3 separate regions of the Homo sapiens genome follow, and regions 2 and 3 are each linked to region 1. The links are contacts of gene promoters, found by promoter capture Hi-C in blood cells and fetal thymus (Javierre and others, 2016). All regions are on one chromosome and are shown on one strand. The core of a region is centred on a gene start or on the middle of the fragment in contact, and the rest is flanking DNA. Distances in the headings are between cores, read along the strand shown. Region 1 holds the start of KLHDC4 (kelch domain containing 4). Region 2 overlaps ZFPM1 (zinc finger protein, FOG family member 1). Region 3 has its middle 15 kb from the start of ZFPM1-AS1.

The links. Contacts are between HindIII fragments. The CHiCAGO score rates a contact against its expected background, and 5 or more counts as called.
Region 2: a contact is called between a fragment that was not itself captured here and the fragment with the promoter of KLHDC4 in region 1, in 1 of 17 cell types (naive B cells). The highest score is 8.4, in naive B cells.
Region 3: a fragment that was not itself captured here is called in contact with the fragment with the promoter of KLHDC4 in region 1 in 1 of 17 cell types (naive B cells); the score reaches 5.2 in naive B cells.

What each region holds. Positions count from the first base shown.
Region 1 is chr16:87,764,608-87,767,707 of GRCh38, reverse strand. It overlaps KLHDC4 (kelch domain containing 4), which reads left to right and starts at 1,722. Exons shown (of 12, transcript NM_017566.4): 1 at 1,722-1,916. The coding sequence starts at 1,818. It overlaps LOC105371399 (a long non-coding RNA gene), which reads right to left and starts at 1,667. Exons shown (of 3, transcript XR_933871.3): 1 at 1,367-1,667. LOC102724467 (a long non-coding RNA gene) reads left to right here. Exons shown (of 4, transcript NR_120309.1): 4 at 1,284-1,377. RefSeq lists enhancers at 1,627-1,686, 1,767-1,826, 1,810-2,434. The HindIII fragment of the contact is 5,415 bases long and covers 1-3,100 here.
Region 2 is chr16:88,523,546-88,526,708 of GRCh38, reverse strand. The region is part of intron 4 of ZFPM1 (zinc finger protein, FOG family member 1); the gene reads right to left. All of the region lies in intron 2 of ZFPM1-AS1 (ZFPM1 antisense RNA 1), which reads left to right. Among named protein-coding and RNA genes, the nearest start is that of ZFPM1-AS1, 5.9 kb to the left of the region's middle. RefSeq lists enhancers at 75-661, 662-1,249. The HindIII fragment of the contact is 918 bases long and covers 1,124-2,041 here.
Region 3 is chr16:88,544,410-88,547,432 of GRCh38, reverse strand. No RefSeq gene overlaps it. Among named protein-coding and RNA genes, the nearest start is that of ZFPM1-AS1, 15 kb to the right of the region's middle. The HindIII fragment of the contact is 6,306 bases long and covers 1-3,023 here.

The sequences.
Region 1 (3,100 bases), core at 473-2,972:
CTTGAACTCCTGACCTCGTGATCAGCCCGCTTCAGCCTCCCAAAGTGCTGGGATTACAGGAATGAACCACCACGCCTGGCCTAAGAGAACTTTTAAAGGCTGACTCACACACAAAGTAATAAACTAGATTATTTCCTGATTTATGCTTTCCCTTTGCCAAATTTTGGCTTGTCCTTGTCCTTAATTTGCCTTATTCCTTGATTACCCATCCAAAGATGACATCTTCTAAGTAGTGATAAGCATTTTTACTCTGCTCTTTCAAATCATAACATTCCATGCACTGCAGATGATTTTGCCATTTCTTACGTAATTTGAGGCAAATCCTAGAGTACAATTTCCTAGCAGGCATTTGGATATTACCTATCTTTATTTCTCAGGCTCCACAAATTGAGTACCCTTTCAGGGTGCTATCATTAGCTCTAGCCTACCTATGAAGAAACAAAAGTCCTCCATGTTAGGACATTTGAGGACATGCCCTTAGTACCTAACAGTGTCTGGCACATTTTAAATGGGAAGGTGGAAGGGCCCCCCCATTTTTTTTTTTTTTTAAGATGGAATTTTGCTCTTTTGCCCAAGCTGGAGTGAAGTGGCTTGATCTCAGCTCATTGCAACCTCTGCCCCCTGGGTTCAAGCAATTCTCCTGCCTCAGCCTCCCAAGTAGCTGGGATTACAGGTGCCCACCACCACGCCTGGCTAATTTTTGTAGTTTTAGTAGAGACGGGGGTTTCACCATGTTGGCTAGGCTGGTCTCGAACTCCTGACCTCGTGATCCACTCACCTCGGCCTCCCAAAGTGCTGGGATTACAGGCGTGAGCCACCGCGCCCGGCAGGGACTGTCTTACTCAGGATCTGCAAAATCTTATAACTGTGTGAAATTTTTTTTCTGGGAAAAAAGCACTCATTTGTTTGGTCTGAGGGGAAAAAATGGGGCTAGCCCAAGAGTCGCCCACTTAGTTCTACCCAGGGCGAAGCAATGTGCCTTAACGGGGGGCACGTGCACCCCGGAAAACTCAAGAGAAAATGAGCCGGGCGTGGTGGGCTCCTGTGGTCCCAGCTACTCCAGAGGCGGAGGTTACAGCGAGCCGAGATCGCGCTACCGCACTCCAGCCTGGGCGACAGAGCAAGACCCTGCCTCAAAAAAATAGAAATAAAAAATAAAACTCAGAGGGCACGTCTCCTAGGACACGGGGACAGGCTAGGTGGGGGCACAGGGCGTGAGAATTGGCGAGCATGGCCGGGGTATGTCAGGCCGGGGCTGCCATCTTTTTTGTTTTTTGAAACAGGATCTCGCTCTGTCGCCCAGGTTGGGGTGCAGGGGCGCATTGCTGCCTGGAACTCCTTGACTCAAGCGATCTTCCCGCCTCACCTTCCCGAGGAGCTAGGACCACTGGGCGCGAGACACCACGCCCGGTTAATTTTTTTTTTTTTCTTCTGTAGCGACTGGGGGTGGGGGGTGGTGTCTCGCTTTGTTGCCCAGGCTGATCTCGAACTCCTGGACTCAAGCGATCCGCCCGCCAAGGCCTCCCAAAGCTCCAGGGTTACAGGCATGAGCCACCGCGCCCAGCCCGGGGCCGGTCATCTTTTCCGGGGCCTTATGCAGAGTCCGAGGCCCCCGAGCCCGCTGCCGAAGACGGAGCTCCAAGACCGAACCTCGTAAAGGGCCCAGCCGCACCTCTACCCGGAAGCGGCTCGAACTCGGGGCCGGAAGTGACTCCATTTCTGTGCGCCGAGCTCCGCCCCACGAGCACCTGTTTCCGAGCGGAGAGCGCGGGCCGTTTTCTTTCCTGGTGTCCCGTCGCGGCTTGGGACCCGGCAAGATGGGCAAGAAGGGCAAGAAGGAGAAGAAGGGCCGCGGCGCGGAGAAGACGGCCGCCAAGATGGAGAAGAAGGTGTCTAAGCGCTCGCGGAAGGAGGAGGTGAGCGGGTCAGACCGGGCTTAGCGGCCCGACGTCGCGGCCGTGCAGCCTCGGCCGACTCCCTGCGCCCCCCGGGGTTACGGGTCGGCCGTGGGAGCCGCGCCGGCCCTGCGGGAGAGCTGGAGGCCGTAGGAACTGCCCCGGCGCCGCGTCCGGGCAGCCCAGACGGGGCCCGCCCCCTCCTGAGTCTCCACGTGTGTCTGTCCGCTTCTCGGAGCTGCCCCCTTTAACGTGCTTGCTTTTCTTAGTGTGGTGTCACGGGCGTTTTTCTGCGTTTCCTCCCCCTCCTCCCTTCTCCCTCCACCCTCCCTCTGAAGGGAGGCTGGGTGGTGAGAAGAGGGAGGGGTTTGGCACAGGAAGACCTGAGGTTGAGCCGGGGGCTGCCTCTGCATGATGTGTGGTCTGGGAGTAAGACTCTTAACTTTTCTGAACCTTACTTTTCTTTCAAAAGAGGGCAAATAATCATCACAGCAGCCCTGAGCAGTGAGCAGCAGATGGTTAAGTGAAGAAGGCACTGGAGCCACGGGGTATCCCGTAGCAGCTGATGGCGGCCATCACGGTTGTCTCCTTCCCTCTGGTCCTCAGCCCGGGGTCTGCAGGAGGATCCGTCCTGACCTTGGGGTTGAGTGTTCTGCGGCTGCTGCTCATGGATTCCCTAACCGGGGCCAGTTTTATGGCCTGCCGTGCGCCAGGCACAGCTCCCTGGGCTTTACTCCTCACGAGCAGGTCAGTTCCGTAGCACTGGTATTCCCATTTGACAGGAAGACCAACAGGTGAACCATGAAGTGGTATGGAACTGGGATGTGACCAGATGTCCTGAATCAGGAGCTCTTGACCACAGTCCTTTGTCCCTTTTCTTCCTAAGTCATTGATCTCTCCATGTCCTCATCTCTTAAATAATGGAGTTGGACTTTTCCCTCACACTCCTCTTAGGCTCTTTCTTTTTTTTTTTTTTTTTTTTGACAGAGTCTTGCTCTGTCACCTAGGCTGGGCTGCAGTGGCATGACCTGCTGGCTAGGGTTGTGGCACAGGAAGTCAGTTCATCTGTGTGGTATCTTCAGAATGGTGCTTGGCAGAAAGTAAGCACTCAGTAACCAGCTGTTAGCTGCTTTCTGCTTTTTTTTTTTTTTTTTTTTTTTTTTTTTGAAGGAGTTTCACTCTTGTTGCCCAGGGTGGAGTGCAAT
Region 2 (3,163 bases), core at 333-2,832, 760 kb before region 1:
TGGCTGGTAGGCCAAGCTGTGGACAGTCATTGGCCCAAGAGCTGGCAGAGGTGTGGCATGGGCCATCTGTGCCATAGTTGACCGGTGGGGCTAACACCGTGCTGGGGCTGGGAGGCTTGGCAGGGAGTAGTACCTTCCAGGGTTGGGCGCAGGGTTCTTGTGGAGACTGAGGCCCAAAGAGGTCGAGCAACATGCTCCAGGTCACACAGCCAGGGAGCAGCAGAGCCTGAACTCACACCCGGGTCTGCGTATCTGTGTTCTCCCCACTGCTCGCCCACCCTTGCCCCCAGAGTGCTGGGTGTGAAACCGCTGTTCCCACAGGGGCTGGACCTGGTAGAGGCTCCTTCCACACAGGCCCTAGATGCCTCCAGAATGACCTCTGTGGGCTGGGGCCGAGATTAGCCCAGAAGATACGGCACTTCCCTAGCAACCCTCGGGCCTCAGTGTCCTCCTGACAGCATGGCTCCCCTCCCTGCCACAGGGCGTGGCAGGGCCACCTGCGTTCCCGCTCGCTCCCGGGGCCGGCACACGGCGGACGCTGGGGAGCACCTGGTGGACTCAGCAGGTCTGTCCCCACCCTGAGGCTGGTCAGGCCCCTTCCTGTGGGCCTGAGACACCAGCACTGTGTTGGATCGGCCCTGGCCCCCCTGGCCTCACTGTCACCCTGGAAAGCAGGCAGTACCCTCCTCTCCATCTCATGGGTGAGGAAACTGAGGCCTGGGAAGGGGAGGGACAGAGCTCATGCCAGTGCCTCGGGCCATGCCATGCTGTCGGCGGTGGCTCAGGCTAAGTCTGGAAGGAAAACACTCTGGGCCGAGCCCGTGGAGGCCGCCTCGTTTCCTGCATCCATTGCACCCCGGCCCCCAGCTGAATGGCAGAGGAAATGCGAGGGGCCCCATCCCAGTGCAGTCGGGGGCTGGGACAGGGCGAGGTGGGGCGGGCAGTCCATGGCCTCGCTCTGTGGTGCCCAACACTGGTCAGACATCAAGGGGAGAAAATGGTGACGGAGGAAGGGGTGACCGCCGCTGCCCCTCAGGCCTCGGTCCCTCCTGCAAGGCTGACTCAGCCTCAGTGCCCTGACCCTCAGCCCTGTGCTGCTCACTGCACTGGTGGTCCCCAAGCTTAGCCACCTGGGTGTCCAATCTGGAGGCACAGCATACACGCGTGCTCCAGCACTTCCTGTAAACACACTTTTTGTTCTATACAAATGAATGCCTTTTAATCAGAAACTTCCTGCACCATGACCTTTGCCTGAAAAGCCAGTGTCACCTACAAATGCTGCCGCTGGCCCGGGACAGGTTTGTGCAGCCCTGTGGTGAGGATGGCAGTCAGCCCAACCCTGCCATGGTACAAGGGGTCGGGCTGGTGACAGTGCAGGGATGTCCCCTGTGGGTCTGGGGTACCTCCCCACTAGGTGCCAGCCCATGAGCTTTCCTGGACTTTGCCAGCACGCGTGGGACCCTGTGGGCCGCAGAGGTGGGCAGTGGGGTCCCAGCCAGGCTCGGCCTCCCTGCTGCGACCTTGGGCAGGGCACGACCAGACCCGTATGCAGGGACCCCTCTGGGCCACCCCTGCCTCTTGGCCCATCCGCAGGGCACTCAGGAATCTAGCAAGATACAGCCTTTGGGCTGGGACGTTCAGTGACTACTCAGGCAAGGTTCAGGCGGGCTGGCCAGCAGAGCAGGTGGCTTCCACGTCACCTGCCTGCTACCACACGGCTCAGCCACAGAACGGGTGAGCAGAGCTAAGCTGGCCAGTGGGGTGGGTGCCCTGGCTGGGGTGGGTGCAACCCTGCAGTCCCAGTGTGAAGCCGTCCCCAGCAGCCACCCCAACCCCTGGCTCAGGTTCTCCTCTGCAGACGGGGCTCTGCCCTCTCCCCACATGGCTGTTGGGGGGACAGAGGGGCGGCCGAGCCCCTGCTCACTCTGGACCCACCCGAAGCCCACCATTAGCCTTTGGGGCAGTCTCAGGGGGGTCAGTCCTATCTCCTTTGACTCAGTTTCCTCCCGGTATGTTGGGAGGCCATGATCTGTGTGAAGCTTTTTGCCTGCCTGGCAGGTTCCCAGCACAGGATGCATATTAGCTCCAGCCCTGGCTGTTGCTTTTGGGTTGACCTGGCAGGACAAAGTGGGCATGGGGTGCCGTCCACAGGGCATGTCCGGGGCAGCACATGCTGAGTGTCCACTGTGGTGAGTGGCTGCCCCGAGAAAGGTGCTTTGTGCAGGCTGGCATCGGGTGGGTGCCCCCCTTTTAAAGGACACCCCCGTGATTCCCAGGGCCGCAGAGCAGGGCTCAGGAACTGCACGCCAGCTGTGGGGCTCTGCCGGCTCCGATGGGGGCTTCTGCTGGGGCAGGCTGGGGGGTAAACCCCAGGGGCAATGGGCAGGCACATTCCTGGCACAAAGGTGGGTGACCGGCGGCTACTGTGTCCCGGCTGCTCCCGAGCCAGGCGGGCAGCGCTCGGCGAGGCTGCTGGGGCCTGGCCCTCCCCACCCTGGCCTTCCTGAGCCTCTAATGAATATTAATGAGCAGAGGAGGGTGAAAAAAATTAATCTGCTTGATCCTCCGATGGGTGCTGCGGTAACGATATGAAATCTAATTATTCGTCCCAATATTTCTAAACCCTCAAACTGAGACTGACAGCCTGCCGGCCGGTTTAATGCTTATCACTCCCAGGAGCAGCGTGTTCCCAGCATGATAAAAACACGCGCCGCAACTGTGCTGACGCTGCACGCACCCCCGATTTTTCTGTGGCGGTCCCGAGTGGAGGGCAGGCGCCATGTTCCCGCCCGGCCCCGCCGAGTGCACCCCGCGTATGTGGGGCGCGACGGGGCGCCTGGCCTGGCTGTGCGGGTGGGGAGGGGCAGGGGGAAGGAGGGTGAGGCTCCCATCCGGCACCCGCCCCCGACCCGGGAGGGAACAGGTAGGAGACCTAGGGGTGCAAGATAAGCAGCTCCGGCCACCCTGCCACGGCCCCCACTGCCAAACACTCTCAGAGGGGCCTGCCGCTCCTACTTCTGCGACCACAGGCTGGGAAGGGGTGAGGGCCTCCCTGCCAGTCTGCCCTGGCTGCTGAGGATGCAGGGGCCACCCTGACACCTCTCAGGGGACAGGTGAGCACAGCCTCGCCTGGGGCCACCAGGGTCCCCAGCCTGGAGGTGGC
Region 3 (3,023 bases), core at 85-2,584, 780 kb before region 1:
CACCCTCTGTCCGGTCACCTTCCCCACCCTCTGTCCCCTCGCCTTCCCCACCCTCTGTCCCCTCGCCTTCCCCACCCTCTGTCCCCTCGCCTTCCCCACCCTCTCCTCGCCTTCCCCACCCTCTGTCCCCTCGCCTTCCCCACCCTCTGTCCCCTCGCCTTCCCCACCCTCTGTCCCCTCGCCTTCCCCACCCTCTGTCCCCTCGCCTTCCCCACCCTCTGTCCCCTCGCCTTCCCCACCCTCTGTCCCCTCGCCTTCCCCACCCTCTGTCCCCTCGCCTTCCCCACCCTCTGTCCCCTCGCCTTCCCCACCCTCTGTCCCCTCGCCTTCCCCACCCTCTGTCCCCTCACCTTCTCCACCCTCTGTCCCCTCACCTTCTCCACCCTCTGTCCCCTCACCTTCCCCACCCTCTGTCCCCTCACCTTCTCCACCCTCTGTCCCCTCACCTTCCCCACCCTCTGTCCCCTCACCTTCTCCACCCTCTGTCCCCTCACCTTCTCCACCCTCTGTCCCCTCACCTTCCCCACCCTCTGTCCCCTCGCCTTCTCCACCCTCTCTTCCCTCACCTTGTCCACCCTCTGTTTTCTCACCTTAGAAATGAGCAGAAAGGTGCAGAGATGGGCGATGGGTCTGGACAGATGTTTCTCCATAGACATACAGTGGCCAGTGAGCAGGGGGATGCTGCGTGGCACTGCCGGTCACTGGAGAATGCAGATTACAGCCCCAGTGAGACTCCGCTTCTCATGCATTCAGATGCTGAAGTCAGACAGTGCTGCAGCATGTGTTGGTGGGATGTGGAGGCCTGGCATGCACTGCTGATGGGAACAGCAATCGGTGTGACTGTTGTGGAAAGTAGGGTGACAGCCACTCAAAAGCTCAACCTCGGGCCTGGGTGCGGTGGCTTATGCCTGTAATCCCAGCACTTTGAGAGGCTGAGGAAGGAAGATTGCTTAAGTAAGGAGGTGGATACCAGACTGGGCAACATAGTGAGATGCCATCTCTACAAAAAGTAAAAAAAAATAGCTGGGAATGGTGCTGCACGCCTGTGGTCCTCAGCACCTAGGAGGCTGAGGTGGGAGGACCCCTTGAGCTCAGGAGGTTGAGGCTGCAGTGCACCGTGATGGCGCCATTGTTCGCCCTCTGCCTTTGATTGGAGAGTGATGATTTCCTCGTGCTGGCTGGAGACTGGAGCATCCCATGTGCATGCTTCCTGAACTTCTATCTGACTTTACTTGTATTATTATTATTGCAAAGGTAGAAACAAAAAGAGACGCAAGATGGTCGGGCACAGGACCCCTGTCCCCAGCTCATGAGGTGCCACCGGGATCTTTTTGCAGCCCTGGCCGGCCCTCTGTGCCCTGTGTCCCACCCTACTCCAAGTCCCAGCTATCCTGAGTCAGGTGCAGCAGCCTTCAGGAGCCAGTGGGGCTCACTGAAGCGGGTCTCACTGGCTGAGGTCCAGGCGTGAGCAGGGCTGGCCCCAGCTGGGAGCTCCTGAGGAGAACCAGCTGCTTATTCTGGAAGCCTCCCCGTTCCTTGGCTCATGGCACCCCCCCCATCTTCAAAGCCCATTGAGTCCTCCCATCCCACCTCTCTGGTATTCTTCCTGACCCCTCTTCCACTGATAAGAACTTTGTGATTATGCTGTGCCCACCAGGATGATCCAGGGTAATCTCTGTATCTTGGGTCAGCTGATGAGCAACCTCAACTTCCCCTGCAGCCTTAACTCCCCTCTGCTGCATGAGGCTGCGCCTTCACAGGCTCCCCCTGGGGATGAAAACACAGGCATCTTTGGGGCCATTCTTCTGCCAGCCGCCCCTCTCCCGGCATCGTTGTCTATGTCTGCTGCCTGTATTTGAATCCAGTGTACGTGCACACCTGAGTGGCCCTGCATCTCCCGGCAGCGTCCATGGTAAGATTCCCTGTGCTGACTCACAGAGCCAGACGTGGTGGCCCAGGCCCATAATCCCAGCTACTCAGGAGGCTGAGGCTGGAGAATCGCTTGAACCTGGGAGGCGGAGGTTGCAGTGAGCCAAGATGGAGCCACTGCACTCCAGCCTGGGCGACAGAGCAAGACTCCGTCTCAAAAAAAAACCCAAAAACAAAAAAAAACAAAAAAACTAGTAGTTAGACTGTGTGTTACCATGTGCTGATGTTTATTAGTTACTGAACTTGGGATTAACTGACTTCTTTGTCAACAAGGTCTAAACCAAGCCACACACCCTCATGGTAGCCTCTTCCAAGTCTGAGGTTTGCTGAGGGAGGGTGAGTGCAGCCCTGAAGTGGGAGCAACCGAAGCACAAAGCATGATGTGAGCAGGAGCCCAGCTCCCTCCAGCCACTGCAGACATTGCATCAAAAACTGCCCCCGTGTTGGCCAGGTGCGGCGACTCATGCCTGTGATCCAAGCACTTTGGGAGGCTGAGGCAGGAGGACCAATCGAGCACAGCGGTTCACAGACCAGCCTGGGCAATATAGTGAGACCCTGTCTCTTATTTTATCTATTTATTTATTTATTTTTGAGACAGAGTCTCGCTCTGTCACCCAGGCTGGAGTCAGTGGCGCGATCTCCGCTCACCACAATCTCCGCTTCCCGGGTTCACGCCATTCTCCTGCCTCAGCCTCCCGAATAGCTGGGACTACAGGCGCCCACCACCACGCCTGGCTAATTTTTTGTATTTTTTTAGTAGAGATGGTGTTTCACCGTGTTAGCCAGGATGGTCTCAATCTCCTGACCTCTTGATCCACCCATCTTGGCCTCCCAAAGTACTGGGATTACAGGCGTGAGCCACCCCGTCCGGCCCCTGTCTCTTCATAATAAAATTTTTATAATGAAGAAATTGCCTTGGTGTGTTCCATGGTGGTGTCTGTGATTGTGGGAACCAGTTTTCTTTTCCTTGGCTATTTTCAAATTTCACTGGTCCTTTAAAAAAACACACAGTAGAACTTTAAAACAACAACAACTAAAGTCGTACATTGACACCCAACAAACACCACAGCTCCTGGTGAGGTGAGAAGTGGCTT